Regions from separate parts of the Homo sapiens genome. Here region 2 is linked to region 1. Evidence: promoter capture Hi-C in 16 types of primary human blood cells and fetal thymus (Javierre and others, 2016). All regions are on one chromosome and are shown on one strand. The core of a region is centred on a gene start or on the middle of the fragment in contact, and the rest is flanking DNA. Distances in the headings are between cores, read along the strand shown. Region 1 holds the start of ZNF746 (zinc finger protein 746). Region 2 holds the start of ZNF398 (zinc finger protein 398).

Region 1 (7,402 bases), core at 2,520-5,019:
CCTTCTGCCAGTCCTCCAGCTTGCCCCACTCCTGCTCGGAGAAATACACGGCCACATCATCAAAGGTCACGGGCACCTGGAACCACAAGTGTCACACTCGCTCACCCACACGCTCACGGGTTTGGCCGCTTGGGCTCCCACACCCCAAGGCGTCCCAGGGCTACCTTAGGGGACTCCCCCTTGCTGCCCGGGGGCAGCCGCAGGATCCAGAAGTTCCTGTTGCGCAGCAGGTTCTCCACGTTCTCCAGCCGCCTCTGCAGCAGCCCGTACTCCTGCAGCAGGGTCCCCAGCACGGCCCACTTGCCCTCCAGCTGGTTCCCGAACTCCACGGCTGTCTTCTCGCAATCAGCCAGCTTCTTCTCGGCCATCCCGGTTCGACCTTCTAGGGAAAGCAGGCGAGCAGCCTGCGATTCAATCTTCCTCTCCATGGCCTGAATCGTGGCTGCCATCGTCCACGGAGAAATCTTTCAGAAACAAAAGAGAAACTGGCATCACTCATTCCATCCACTGTCTTCATTGAGCCCCTCTCTCCCTAGGCACGGGGGAGTTGGGCTGGGAGTCCATATGTGTGGACAAGTGGGGCTATCCTATACCACATGCCAGATCTCAGGTTGGCCATCACCTGCTTGGGTATGTTAGGTCTATGTCTGGGTGGGTGCCTTTACTCCAGGCCTCTGCAGCACAATGCAGACCCTTATCACGGTGCTTATCACCCTACACAATAATTTCCTACCCACACCTACACTGTGGGCTCCCTGAACATGGTATTGCATCTTTTCATACCACTGTCCTTGACACATGGCAGGTACCCAGTGCAATTTTGTTACGTAAACAGTGACTTAGCATTGCTGGGCATTTTAGTGGAGAAATGGTAAACTGCAGATTTACTAGAGCGCAGCCTGCACCTCCCCTCATGATTACACAGGAACTGTCTACTGATGATGACCCAGCAAAAAAAACAGCTGGTTCACTGAAACGGCACAAACAAGAGTATTGCTCAATTTCTTTTTTCTTTTTTTGTTTTTTAAAGCATCTCATGTCCCCTTTTAACAAACATAAAAATCTAATGGCCAGTTCCTCTTCCCCCAGGACAGTCTCATTTTGTCACCTTCCCATCTGCCCCTCCCCCACAAGCTAAAATCCCCATGACTGCAAATCTCCATCAGTCCAGAGTTAGGCTTTTTGACACTGCCTGAGCCCTACAAGATTCTTTCTCTTTCCCAATTCCCACCCCCTCAAGGTAAAAATGACGGCCTCCGACATTTTTGTAGCTGTACCAGGAGCAGTGACATACCCTGCAGTCTGGTGAGGAAAGTACATATATGCCACAGTTAGACTTGTATATGGACAGCAACCATCTTAATTAGAGACGGGGGCCTTCCCTGTCATTGGAAATGTTCACATGGCGTATCAGTGACCGGCAGCTGGGACAAGGAAGAATGGGCACATTTTGCGGTGGGTAGGGAGCTGGACTGTTTGAGCCACCCACATCTGAATGTGGGACCTACAGGGCACAGAGGAGCTCCTGGTATCGGGACCTGAGGATCAACGCCTCCTTACAACATTCTGCAAAATAATTCCTCAACAAAAGGTTGGTGATTATTTCCAAAATGAAGAAGTAGCTACTAGAAACCAGTGTGGATTCACTTAGAGAAAGTCACTGAGAACTAGAATGCGGATGGACAGCTCAAAAAATAGAGACAAAAGGAGAGTTTGAGCAGAGGGAGAAACAAACTTGTCTAGGACAGTGCTTAAGATACTATCTATTTGGAAGGAAGCAGGACCCAAAGAAGGTAGGACTCTAAGGGGTCTTCAAGGCTGGGAGATTCTGGACAAGCTGAACTGTTTCTAGGCGAAAACCCCAATGCGGGTGGGAGTCTTGCTCTCAAGGAGTAGGTGGTCCTACAGCACCTGGGTGGGCCAGCGTGGTTCTGGGCTTGAGTCCACCCTCCACCTAAGGCCACTGTTCCTTCCCTCACCTCTCCTTTCTCAGATCAATCCCTGTCACGTGATCCCAGACGCCAAGAGTTTACTCCAGAAGCTTCCTTTCAACTGGTCACCAGCTCCTTATCCACTGAAATCCTACCCATCCTCCACGTGCATTATTATGGGCTTTGTGTGGCATGAAAGGGACCTCTGCTAAACTACTTTATTAAGAAAATATTAGTCTTTTACTCATGGACAACAAGGTGCATGGTTTTCTTACAGTTCTGATGGGGCCAGGAAACCCTGTGTAAGGTCTTCACACTATGTGGTGGGAGGTGGCGACTGTGCGCTGCTCACTCCAGCCCAGCTTCTTACTGACAAGTGGCTGGAATATGTGGGGCTGTCCTTGGACTCCTGCCAGGGGAGCTGAAACTCTTTGCTTGAGAGGAGCTGATGGTAAGAGGAGCCGGATCCCTCATCCACTGCCCACCCGCAGGATGAAGTCCAGGCATGCAAACCCCTTCTTAGTCTCTCTCTGCAGACTCCTTTCCCACTGCCTCCAAACCAAAACCATCTTCTCCAGGCTCATGGACTCCTTTCTGTGCCTGCACACGCCCTGCACTGTCCCGTCTCTCTGCGCCTTTGCCCAGGCACTCCTCCCTCCCTGAAAGCACCACCGGTCTAGCTGGGCCTGAAATCCTAGCCTTCCCTAAAAGCCCGGCTCAAATCACAGAGGCGCAGAGCATCAGGCCAGGAGGGGTGGACAGCGGTACCAAGAGGCCCCCTGACACTCCTTCCCCCGGAGCCCACCGCAAGCTTCCACCTGGGCGCCAGCACTCACCCCTTTCTGTTTTGCACGATTATTGCCCGCGTACCTGCCTGCCTGGTCCTTGAACACACAGCCACTGTGTGTCTTTTCACACTTTCCAGCTGGGTAAGCCTGGGCAAGTTAAGTTCTCTAGGCCCCGGGTTTTTCTTTTGTATGACAGAGATTAACACCAGTACCCATCCCACAGGCTTGCTGTGAGGACAGACTAACGCCTCAACAGGGCTTGTGGAAGTGCGTGGCTCTATATTCCCTTCCGCGCCGACCCCGGGAAGCTGGGCACGTAGTGGGAGTCGGTGTATGCGGATTCGAAGCCGGACACCTCCCAGGTGCCACCAGGCCGCTGCGGGGGAGATGGAGAGGGACCTACAGGCCGAGCGCCAGGCAGAGAAAGGAGCCGCGGGTGGGGGGGCACCCAGAAGGAGGGGACAGCGGCTGGGGCGGGGGCAGGAAGCCCCGGAGGGCCCAAAGAACTTGGCGTGGGGCGGCCCGGGGCGGGGACAACCGTTCCGCCAGCGCTCGGGTTCGGCTCGGAGTGGGGGCCCGGCCGACGGGCGCAGTAGGCCCCGGCGGACCCCGCGCCCCATTCGCGGGAGCCCCAGGCCCGGTGGTCCGGCCCGGACCCCGGAACCCCTCCCCAGGGCCTGCGGCGCCGTGTGCCGGGGCCGGGCCGCCTGGGGCCCCCAGGCCGCGAGTCCCTGCGCGCGCGGGTCGCCCTTACCGGAGCCGCGACCGCCTCGGCCATGGCCCTGCGCTGTCCCGCCCGGCCCGGAGGAAGTCGTCGTCGCCGCCGCCGCGCGCGGCACCACGCAGGCCCGGCCGCCCGGTGCTCTCCGCAGGCGGCGCCTGCCTGGCCTTTCCTCTGCCGCCGCTCCTCGCTGGCTGCCCCTGCGCCGCGCCGCCCGCAGTCGCGCCGCCTCCGTCAGCGCCCGGCCGGTCCACACTGCATCCTGGGAGCCGGCGCCGCGGCCCGGCAGACGAAGGCCCGTGAGGCTTCCTGGAGGCAGCGCGGCCGCACAGCCCCACCTGCAGCCTGAGAGGCGAACGGCAGGCGCTGCGCCCGCCTGCCCGCGGCCCCGCCCCGCCCCGCCCAGCCCCGCCCGCGGGGCCCGACGGGAGGACCTAGCGACCCCGGGCCGACCCCGCGACCCCGCGACCCCGCGACCCCGGCCGGACTGCCGAGCGCGGGGGGAGTCACTGCGCTGGCCCCGCGGCCCAGCCCGAGGACTCGGTTATTGAAAGGGTCCCCCTCATGGGACCCGCCTGGCCGCGCCCGCGGGCGAGCACGGGCTTCCGGGCAGGGCGTCCCCCGGGTGACCGCGGCCAGGGCGGCCCCCTCGCCCTGGGATGCCCGGCTCCCCTTCCCCCGCCCCACGGGCACTTCTGCTGCCCGAGGTCCTGGGTCTGGAGGTTTAGGCTATTTTGGGGAGGACAGATGTAACTCATGCCCACCTGTGTTTGAAATGGAATAAATACTTCCAACAACAGGAATATAGTTCGGTAAACCCCGGTAGGCAACCACTTAGCATTTTCTGTAATGGGTTTATTACAGTAAATTTTTTTAATGGCATGAGCAATGGGACGCAATACCATCATTTAAAATGATTTCGGTGAAGGTCTTGGTAGGAACAGATGTTCATGATGTTTTAAGAGAAAAAGCCTGTCCAGGACGATCCTGTCTTTGTTTTAAAAATAACATTTTAAAACAATATAGGACATATGTAGCGTCATATACTGCGTACATGTATAATTACAGTTTTGAAAAGTTTGGAAGCATATATATCAACATGGCCTCAGTAGTTCTATTAAAGGTCTATTCCTTTAATAGACCACGGGCCGTTTTTATGCCTTTTCTAATTTTTTCCAATTCATGTTTTTATTTTTCCATGACAAGGATAGTATTTTTAAACAAGGAGAGAAAAATAAAAATTTAAATGTTCTCAAAGAGGCCAACCAGAGCAGGGGAAGGAGGGCGCCTTGGACGGGCCCCCACGTAGTTTCAGAGGCTCATTGCCTTTCAGGAACACGACTTGCTCATCTGTGTATTCCCCAAGACTAACTAGCCAACTGCCTAGCACACACTGATAAGAAAATATGTGAGAGATCTGTAATCTTTTTCAAAGAAGGCAGACCTTACAGAATAGATAAAATTTGAGCTGGATCTTGAAGAATTGGCAAAATATTGATAGGCAGAGAGCATTTCAGACCAGAGGGTGGTAGTAGAGGTGTGAGCTGGATGACAGCCCAAAAAAAAATTGATGTAGGAAGATATAAAGCATTTTAGGGCCGGGCGCAGTGGCTCACGCCCGTAATTCTAACACTTTGGGAGGCCAAGATGGGTGGATTGCCTGAGCTCAGGAGTTTGATACCAGCCTGAGCAACATGACAAAACCCCGTCTCTACTAAAAATAGAAAAAATTAGCGAGGCGTGGTGGCACGCACCTGTAATCCCAACTACTGGGGAGGCTGAGGTACGAGAATCGCTTGAACCCGGGAGGCAGAGGTTGCAGTGAGTGGAGATCACACCACTGGGTGACAGAAATACAGTGCATTAGAAATAAAGAGACATTTTTAGTGTGCAATTTAAAAAGTTCCCTTTTGACAGGCTGAGTCGGATATGCCAGGGTCATCTCTAGGTAGTAATTTCCAAGCCTGGCTCTCAGAGCAGCTGCATCAGTCTCTGGGGAAGCTTGTGAAGGATATGGATTTCTGGATCCCATCTCATATCTACTGAATCAAAATGTCTTTGGGATGGGTCCTGAGTAATGTGGAGAAAACTTATTTTAAAAGAAGGTCTCTTTTTAACAAGTTCCTTGTAGGGGTTGAGGTAAGGGTGAAGCTGGGGCTCTGCAGACAGCCAAGTTAGGGTAATGATGACTTGCTCTGTCCTCCACTGAAGACAGGCATCTATTGCAGAGCATCTCTGGTGCTGGTTTTCCAGCCTCTATTTGTAAAAAGAACGAAGATAAACCTCCTTGGATTGATATATGAGGCTTCCAAAGCCTTTCCCTCCATTTTGGGCACAGGTGTCAAAAGCAGGCATGAGAGTTTCCACTCCTGTGCCTTTCCTCATGCTTTTCCCCTCTCCTCTTGCCCACCCGAAGTTCTCACACCTTTTCCAGACCAGCATATGCCCTAATTCTTCCAGTTAAGTCTCTCCATGCCAATCACGGCTGCAGCAAGCTCTGCATTGTCCCAACTCTAATAATTTTTATTCTCGGTGCCATTCATATGGCACTGAGAAAAAAATTACAATACAAGGTAGTAGTTCCTAACTCACCTCTTGGATTATAAGTTCCCTGAGAGCAGGGACTATATCTTATTTCTCTTGTCTCTCCTGCAGTGCCTAATACTGGGCAGGTTTAGGCAACATAAAGTAATGATTTAGTACAAGTCTTAATTGATTGCTCTGTGTGGTGTGATCAACTGTGGTCCAAAGAATCATCCCCTCCTCTGCTCTAATACTTCTGCAGCCCCTACCATCTCCACCTTCCTGCTGAGTATTCCTAGAAGAAAAATCATAAAGCATTTTCAACACACCCAGAAGGAGCCTGGAAGGGCTAGAGAACATGAGACCACATGTCAACTCAAGGTGTCAGGGAGGCAGGAAGTGTGTGGTTCATACTGCACATAGACTGTGTAGATGTAGGGACTATGGACCCATGCACCCCTATGAGTGCTTCCTATACTCCAGCAGGTACAGCAGAACAGGTGGACCTCTATTTTTCCAGCTGCTCCCTTAGGCCTGAGCTTTTCCCCTGGGACCAGGCACACAGCCTAAAAGTTCAGGCTTGGGGTTTTCAAAAAGACTGTGGTAATCATTGCTGCCCACTAAATATTTCCAGCTGGTTTCTCTTGAAGACCATGGCTGGATGGCACTTCCTGGTTTCTTCTGGCTGGGTTGGACCATGTGACAAGTTCTGGCTGATGTTTTTTCTTTCCCTCTACTATGGTAACCCAGCAATATTTGAGGAGGTGGGTGCTGTATTTGCCTGCATCCTGGAGGTGGGGGACATTGAGTAGACTCCCCAGCCATCCCATGATGAGCTACTTACAGCATGAACATGAAACTTTTTGTTGTAACATGGTTTGGGGGTTGCTTGTTCCACAGTTTAACCTAGCCTATCCTGACAGATACAAAGGCATGGTGAAAGTTGGCCAGGCATTGCAGCAGGCATCCTTGGGCTCCAGGTGGTGTCTGCTCGAGCTTAACTTCCCTTACATTGTCTGAGTGCTCTCACATTGAGCGTTACCCTGCAGCGGTTAGATGTGGTGAAGTGCTGGAGAACTTGCAGCTGGCCCTGGAGTCTCTCCCATGGAGCCAGTGCCAAGTTCCTGCCTCAAATCCCTCAGTGAAATTTGCAGATGCGGATGGTCAGGGCCATGGCTCTGAGAAGCTACCTCCTTTCCTTCTGCTGGGAGCTGGGAGACTCACAGTCCTCTGGGGTTGGCTGGCTGGAGGCCAGTGCCTCAAAAATATTCTATACCAGAGCCCTTGAGTACAGAGAAAAGTGAATGTATGTCCTGTGGGTCTGGACGCTGCCTGAAATGGCCCTTGGTGAGCCAGAAGGTGTGATAAATTGTCATACTTTAACAATCCATTAAATCTTGTCTCCTTTATAAAACTTCTGTGCTTGTTTTAATTTTAAA
Region 2 (7,402 bases), core at 1,841-4,340, 350 kb before region 1:
GAGAATATTACCAATGTAGCAAGATTTACCAATAACCAATGGTTGCTTGAAGACAAAAGAGTTTGTTGGAACTTGCTGAATAAATTGATGTGCCATCAGTGTATTTTTTACATCATACATGCTGAAAAAAATCTGTCCTTGATTCTGTGCAAAGGAAGATGCTGAAATTGGTGTGCATATGCAGGGAAAGTCAAGATGCAGATGGAAACTGGGATTATTTTGTTAACTCAAAAACCAATTGGCAGGGTGCGGTGGCTCACGCCTGTAATCCCAGCACTCTGGGAGGCCGAGGTGGGCAGATCACCTGAGGTCAGTAGTTCGAGACCAGCCTGGCCAACATGGTGATACCTCGTCTCTACTTAAAATACAAAATTAGCCCCCATGGTGGCGCATGCCTGTAATCCCAGCTACTTGGGAGGCTGAGGCAGGAGAATCACTTGAACCCGGGAGGCAGAGGTTCCAGTGAGCAGAGATTGCGCCATTCCACTCTAGTCTGGGCAACAAGAGTAAAAACTCCATCTCAAAAAACAAACAAACAACCCCCCAAAAAAGCCAATTAAATTGTTTCATAGTCACATTTCTAGATCCAAACTTTTAGGACAATTTTTTTCTCTAGTGATTATGTATAGCAGCAAGAGCAGACAAAAATATTATAAATTAAAAATAAGTTAGTACAACAACCTTACATCTGCTTCTGAAAATATTGTGCATCTTCTTTAAACAGTACACAAAAAGCTTCAGTCAGTGAAATTGCTTAATGAAATGCCAGTACCATCCAAAGAATTTTTAAGGCCAAGAATTAAATAGGAAGAATTTCTTGTCTTAATATATTCCTATTCAAGGAAGGAACATTTAATAAGTTGGTGGTAATATTACCATATTAAAGCAGAGAGGTAGCCTTGCTTTCTATGGAGCTCAGTTGGAAGTCTTATTTAGTAATACAAATGTCCCTGTTAAATGGCCATAGGAGCATCTGACAGAAATTGTTGTTCTTGCCTTATAACATCAAACTTGAAAACTTTACTACTTTTTTTTTGGAGATGGGATGTCAGTCTGTCGCCCAGGCTGGAGTGCAGTGGTATTATTACAGCTCACTGCAGCTTCAACCTCCCTGGCTCAAGTGATCTTACCTCAGCCTCCCGAGTAACTGGGTCGACAGGTGTGCATTACCATTTCAGGCTAATTTTTGTATTTTTTTATGGAGACAGGGTCCCACCAGGTTGCCCTGACTGGCCTTGAATTCTTGGGCTCCAACAATCTACCCACCTCGGCCTCCCACTGTGCTCGGCTACTACATTTTTTTTTTTCTTTTTTGAGATGGAGTTTCACTCTTGTTTCCCAGGCTGGAGTGCAATGGTGCAATCTCCGCTCACTGCAACCTCCTCCTCCTAGGTTCAAGTGATTCTCCTACCTCAGCCTCCTGAGTAGCTAGGATTATAGGCACCCACGACCACGCCCGGCTAGTTTTTCTATTTTTAGTAGAGATGGGGTTTCACCGTGTTGTTCAGGCTGGTCTCCAACTCCTGACCTTAGGCGATCCACCCACCTCGGCCTCCCAAAGTGCTGGGATTATAGGCGTGAGTCACCGTGCCCGGCTTCTCGGCTACTACATTTTAAATAATAAAATTATACAACAGAATTTTCTTTCCAAGAAAATTCAGATTATTATTTTTTTGTAATCTACTCATATTGTGAGTCAGAGAATGGCAATTTTCATTATTAAGCATTCACCATCTGACAAATATGTATATTCAGGTAAATCCCAAATTACGGACTGCATATGTAGCCACAGGCGAAAAGTAACTTAGTCTGCTCAAGAGCAGTTGCCCCAACAGGATAGTTCTCATACTTTTGTGATTTACAGATAGTTATACTGTTATGGGCATTGACTTGATTCATGTGTTGAAATACAGGTTTAGCAGGGTTTGATTCATACATGTTTGAAATGAAGACTTCCTGGAAAACCAGGGTCATGTGCTTATCCTATCACCACACACATGAAACCGCCCCAACAGGGTTCACAAAAATTGCATGCAGGTTCTGGACAGAAATATAGTTATAATTAAGCATTAATCAGGCTGCACTTCGGCCTACTTCCTTGTTGCTAATAGTCACAAGGCACTAGATACTGACATTTGCATCTCTATTGTTCCTATAGATAGGATTTCAGACATCAGACTAAGAATTGATTTGCATCCCTGTTGTTCCTGTAGACAGGATCTCTGACATTAGAATCATAAGGCTTTTGTTTAAGGATCGCTTAAGATGTTTTTCAGACCACGAGTTCCGGTGAAACAGTTGAGTTCAACCAGTTTGAAGACCCCCCACAGAGGAATGGGATGAGCATGAGAATGTAGTTTCTTCATCTCCTTGTACCACGATTTCACCAGCACTCTCCCACCAATCAGTCAACTCCATTACCCTTACAAACTCTAACCCCAAATTCCCAAATTCCTAGCAGAGATGGATGTGAGGCTTCTTCCTGTCTCCTCCTTAGGTGGCCCTATGATTAGACCTCTTTCTCTGCTGCAACCTGGTGTCTCTGCATATAGACTTGCTATGTGCATTGGGCAAGGAACCTACTGCTGTTACACACACTCTGTTGACTTAAAACACAACCTCACCAGAAAACACTTTGTTCTCGCAGGTCCTTTTTTTTTTTTTTTTTTTTTAAGATGGAGTCTAGCTCTGTCGCCCAGGGTGGAGTGCAGTGCTGCCATCTCTGCTCACTGCAACCTCCGCCTCCTGGGTTCCAGCGATTCTCTTGCCTCAGCCTCCGGAGCAGCTGGAATATCAGGTGCACGACACCACGCCCGGCTAATTTTTGTATTTTTTAGTAGAGACGGGGTTTCACCATGTTGGCCAGGCTGGTCTGGAACTCAGGTGATCTGCCCGCCTCGGCCTCCCAAAGTGCTGGAATTACAGGCGTGAGCCACTGCGCTCGGCCTGTTCTCGCAGGTCCTTTTGCTCAGACGCAGCAAACCGTAACCCCAAGCTCGATCTCTGCTGCTCTCAGGAATTCCACTTCCTCCAGCTTGGGCAACATAGCGAGACCCTGTCTCTACAGAAAAATAAATAAGTAAATAAATAAATACAAATAAATAAAACATTAGCCGGGCTTGGTAGCTGCGCCTGTAGTCCAAGATGCTCGGGCAGGCTGAGGGGAAGGATCGTTTGAGCCCAGCAGTTTAAGGCTGCAGTGAGCCTTGTTTGTGCCACTTGCACTCCAGCCTGGACGACAGAGGGAGACTGTCTCTAAATAAATCAATAAATAAGGCCGGGCGCAATGGCTCACGCTTGTAATCCTAGCACTTTGGGAGGCCAAGGCGGGTGGATCATTTGAGGTCAGGAGTTTCAGACCAGCCTGGCCAACATGGTGAAACCCCGTCTCCACTTAAAAAAAAAAAAATTAGCTGGGCATGGTGGTACATGCCTGTAATCCCAGCTACTTGGGAGGCAAAGGCAGGAGAATCGGTTGAACCCGGAAGGCGGTTGCAGTGAGCCGAGATCCCGCCACTGCACTCCAGCCTGGGCGACGGAGTGAGACTCCGTCTCTAAATAAATAAATAAACAAAAATTAAGAATCCTATTTCCAGACCAGGCCCCGGAGAGTCAATAATCCGAGATGTGAAGGAGACCTTAAAATATTATTGATCCCAACACAGGCCGCGTGGGACCTGAACCGCCTCACCTTGGCAACCACATTTGTAATTTCCGCAAATGATCTATATCTTCTTCATTCCAAAATTGTGCCTCTCCGTCACTCATTCCACCCATAGGCTCCCTTCAGCCGTGTCCCCCTTACTCTCACCCTGCACATTTCCGCTGTTCTAAATACGGCTGCCCTTCAGCAGAAGCTGTTGCCTGCAGACGGCGCCTGCGTATCGAGCCTCCGTGAAGAAAATCACTCCCCAGAATGAGCCCGGCTTTGCGGCTGGGTCCTAAACTGCGGTGAGCTGAACCTTCTCGTGGGAATGTGAGAAAGCGGAACACACGTGGGCCCCAAATAACAACCCTCCCCACACCGAAGCCCAAGAGCTGGGGGGGAGGGGCGGAGGCGACGCGGGGGGCGCTGGCCGCAGGGGCCGGCAGGGGGCGCGCTGGCCGCGGTGGCTGGGCAGCGCGAGCCTGCGGCGCGTCTAGGCCCGCGCGGTTCCCGGTGCACTCGCTGCCCACAAAGCGCCAGCTGAGGGGCCGCTGCGGGTGGAGTGCGGCGGAGTCGGCCTCGCGACCCCAGCTTGATCCGCCGCCTGCTGCACCGCGCCTCCGCCGCGTTCCTGCGCGTCCCGAGCCCCGACGGCCGCGTGAGTCCCGTCCGTGCGGGGAAGGCAGGGCCGGGTCGGCGCCGCCTGTGGAGAGGACCCGGCGGCCGGGCCTGCTTGGAGCCGGGCGCGGTGGCAGCGGCGGCAGCGGCGGCGACTTCCGAGGCCCGGGCTAGACAGCGCAGGGCCATGGCTGAGGCGGCCCCGGCCCCGGTAAGGGCGGCCGCGCGCGAGTGTTGTGAGCCCCCGAGACCCAGACCCCGAGGGAGGAAGGCGGGCGGGCAGGGAGCTGCCAGGCATAGGCGCCGTTCTCGGGTCCCGCCGGCCACGTCGCCTGTCGCCCGTGCTTGGCGGCTGCAGCCTCGCGTGAGGGGACTTAGCGGGTGGGTGTGAAACCGCCCACCCGGGGACACCAGGCTGGGCCGCAGGTCTGAGGGGCACTCGCAGGCAGCTATGAGACCCGGGGCCCTGCAGTTGGGTTGAAGTCGAGGGGGTGCCTGCTGCGTGTCAGCCCCACGCCTGCCCGCCAGACGCGCAGCGGGGTTGGGCTGGGGAGCCGTCAGCCATTCTCGCGGCCGCGGGAGCGTTCGTCACCAGCAATCTGAGCGGTGGCGCGGGCGGCATTTAAGTGTGCGGAGGCGCATTCCCGCCGCGCTGCGTGACGCCTGGGCTCCCGGCACCGGACTCGGGACACGCGGGAGGCCCTCCCGAAATAGCTGCCGAATGAATGGTGCGGACCCGGAGGCTGGAGTGGCCTCGCGTGCGTGGCGGTTCATTCGCGGGTGTTTGCCAAGGCCTGCGGGGGCCGGCAGCGGCCAGTTGCCAGGGCGACCGAGGCGACCGGGCCGCGCCTGCACGCAGCCCCGTAGAATGAGAAGGGGACGGTCAGGCCGCGGGGAAAGCACTGATCGCATTTGCCACCCAAGAGGTCTTTGGTCACCTCTAGGAGAGCAATTGTACTGGGTCAGGAGCCACCCTGGCACATGAGGGGTGACTGGGAAAAGGAGGAAGAGCAGCGATGGGTAGGGGGTAGAGCAGAGGGAAGTGCCACCTCCACTCTTGGACCTGTTTTTCTTTTTTCCAACCTTTTTTTTTGTGTATAGGTGGGATGGTAGCGATGATCCTGTGTTGTGCCAGTCCTGGCTAATAGAAATATAAGGGAAGCCGCATACAAAACTCTAAATCAAGCTTGTCCAACCCGCGGCCCCCAGGCCGCATGCGGACTAGGACTGCTTTAAATGCGGCCCAACACAAATTCGTAAACTTTCCTAGAACATCATGAGATTTATGCACGGACCTTTTTCTTTGTCTTTTTTTTTTTTTTTTTTTTTTTTTTTTAGCTCATCAGCTATCATGATCAGTATTTTATGTGTGACCCAAGACAGTTCTTCCAGTGTGGCCCAGGGAAGCCAAAAGATTGGACACCCCTGCTTAAATTCTCTAGGCGTCACGTTTAAAAAGTAAAAAGCCAGGCGCTGTGTTGTGCACGCCTGTAGTCCCAGCTAGGCCGGGGGCTGAGGCGGAAGAATCACTTGAGTCCAGGAGTTCGAGGCAGTCCACACCGCGTCTCTAAAATAAAAAAAATTTTTGAGAAGTTAAAAAATAAATAGATGAAATTAATTTTAATTATATATCTAACTCAATATATGCAAAATATTATTTCAACATGTCATCAATTTATTTATTTATTTATTTTTTGAGGTGGAGTCTCACTCTGTCCCTCAGGCTGGAGTGCAGTGGCGCCATCTGGGCTCACTGCAACTTCTGCCTTGCCGGTTCAAGCGATTCTCCTGCCTCAGCCTCCCGAGTAGCTGGGACTACAGGCGCGTGCCACTACGCCCGGGTCCTTTTGTATTTTTAGTAGAGAGGGGGGTTTCACCGTGTTTGCCGGGATGGTCTCAATCTCCTGACCTCGTGATCCGCCCGCTGGGATCCAAAGTGCTGGGATTACAGGCGTGAGCCACCGCGCCCGGCCTCATGTAATCGATTTAAAACATTAATGGCCGGGTGTGGTGGCTCAAGCCTGTTATCCCAAGCACTTCAGGAGGCTGCCGTGGGAAGACAGCTTTAGCCCAGGAGTTGAAGACCAGCCTGGGCAACATAGGAAGACCCCATCTCTACAAAAAAAATTTTTTTTTTTAAATTAGCCAGGCGTGGTGGCATGCACTTGTACTCCCAGCTACTCAGGAGGTGGGAGGTGTTTGAGCCAGGGAGGTGGAGGCTGCAGTGAGCTGTGATCCTGCCACTGCCCTCCAACCTGGGCAACAAAGTGAAACCCTGTCTCAAGCAAACAAACAAATATTTTTTTCATACTAAGTCTTCAAAGTCTCGTGTATTTTATACTCATAGCACATCTCAATTTAACCACATTTCAGGTGCTCAGTGGCCACATGTAGGTAGTGGCTACTGTATTGAACAGTGCCAGTCCACCCTATGGAGAAGAATCAGGAGACAGATTGACACTAAGAAAGGAACAACCTACCCAAAAAGGTGGAAGGGGTTGGCATAAGTGAAGCAAATGTGGAGAGTTAAGATTTAAATAGGATGCAACTTCCTTAGGAAGTAAAGAAGAAAACTTAGATTCGGTTACTGATAAGTTTGAAGCAAGGAGTATGAAGAGAAAGTTGAATGAATTTAGGTCTGATTAATTTCCATCTCAAAGCAAGAGGACATGTCATCTTCTGAGAGTGGGGGCTGCAGCAGACAAGTCTTACTACTCAGTGTCAGCATCACCTGGGAATTTGTTAAAAATACAAAATCTCAGGCTGTGTACCATGGCTCACACCTGTAATCCCAGCACTTTGGGAGGCTGAGGCAGGTGGATCACTTGAGCTGAGTAGTTTGAGACCAGCCTAGGCAATATGGTGAAACCCTGTCTCTACCAAAAATACAAAAATTAGCAGGGCATGGTGGTGTGTGCCTGTGGTCCCGGCTACTCGGGAGGCTGAGATGGGAGAATCGCTTGAGCCCATGAGATGGAGGTTGCGGTAAGCTGAGATTACACCACTGCACTCCAGCCTGGGTGACAGTGAGACCTCATCCCAAAAAAACAAAAACAAAACCCAACAGAATCTCAGTTTTCCTTACAGACCTACTGAATAAAAATCTGTACTTTGACAAGATCTCCAGGTGATTCTTCC

What was found. Contacts are between HindIII fragments. The CHiCAGO score rates a contact against its expected background, and 5 or more counts as called.
Region 2: a contact is called between a fragment that was not itself captured here and the fragment with the promoter of ZNF746 in region 1, in 10 of 17 cell types (neutrophils, fetal thymus, total B cells and 7 more). The highest score is 10.8, in neutrophils.

The regions. Positions count from the first base shown.
Region 1 is chr7:149,494,040-149,501,441 of GRCh38, forward strand. It overlaps ZNF746 (zinc finger protein 746), which reads right to left and starts at 3,770. Exons shown (of 7, transcript NM_001394198.1): 1 at 3,474-3,770; 2 at 165-464; 3 at 1-76. The coding sequence starts at 3,497. RefSeq lists enhancers at 94-1,293, 2,088-3,031 and silencers at 3,165-3,224, 3,465-4,134. The HindIII fragment of the contact is 2,699 bases long and covers 2,741-5,439 here.
Region 2 is chr7:149,143,292-149,150,693 of GRCh38, forward strand. ZNF398 (zinc finger protein 398) reads left to right here and starts at 4,162. Exons shown (of 6, transcript NM_170686.3): 1 at 4,162-4,475. The coding sequence starts at 4,452. LOC107986856 (a long non-coding RNA gene) reads right to left here and starts at 4,070. Exons shown (of 2, transcript XR_007060581.1): 1 at 3,692-4,070; 2 at 1-3,061. RefSeq lists enhancers at 1,792-2,365, 2,366-2,939, 2,940-3,513, 3,607-3,656, 4,088-4,661 and silencers at 3,967-4,606, 4,271-4,442, 4,737-4,886, 5,027-5,076. The HindIII fragment of the contact is 4,715 bases long and covers 734-5,448 here.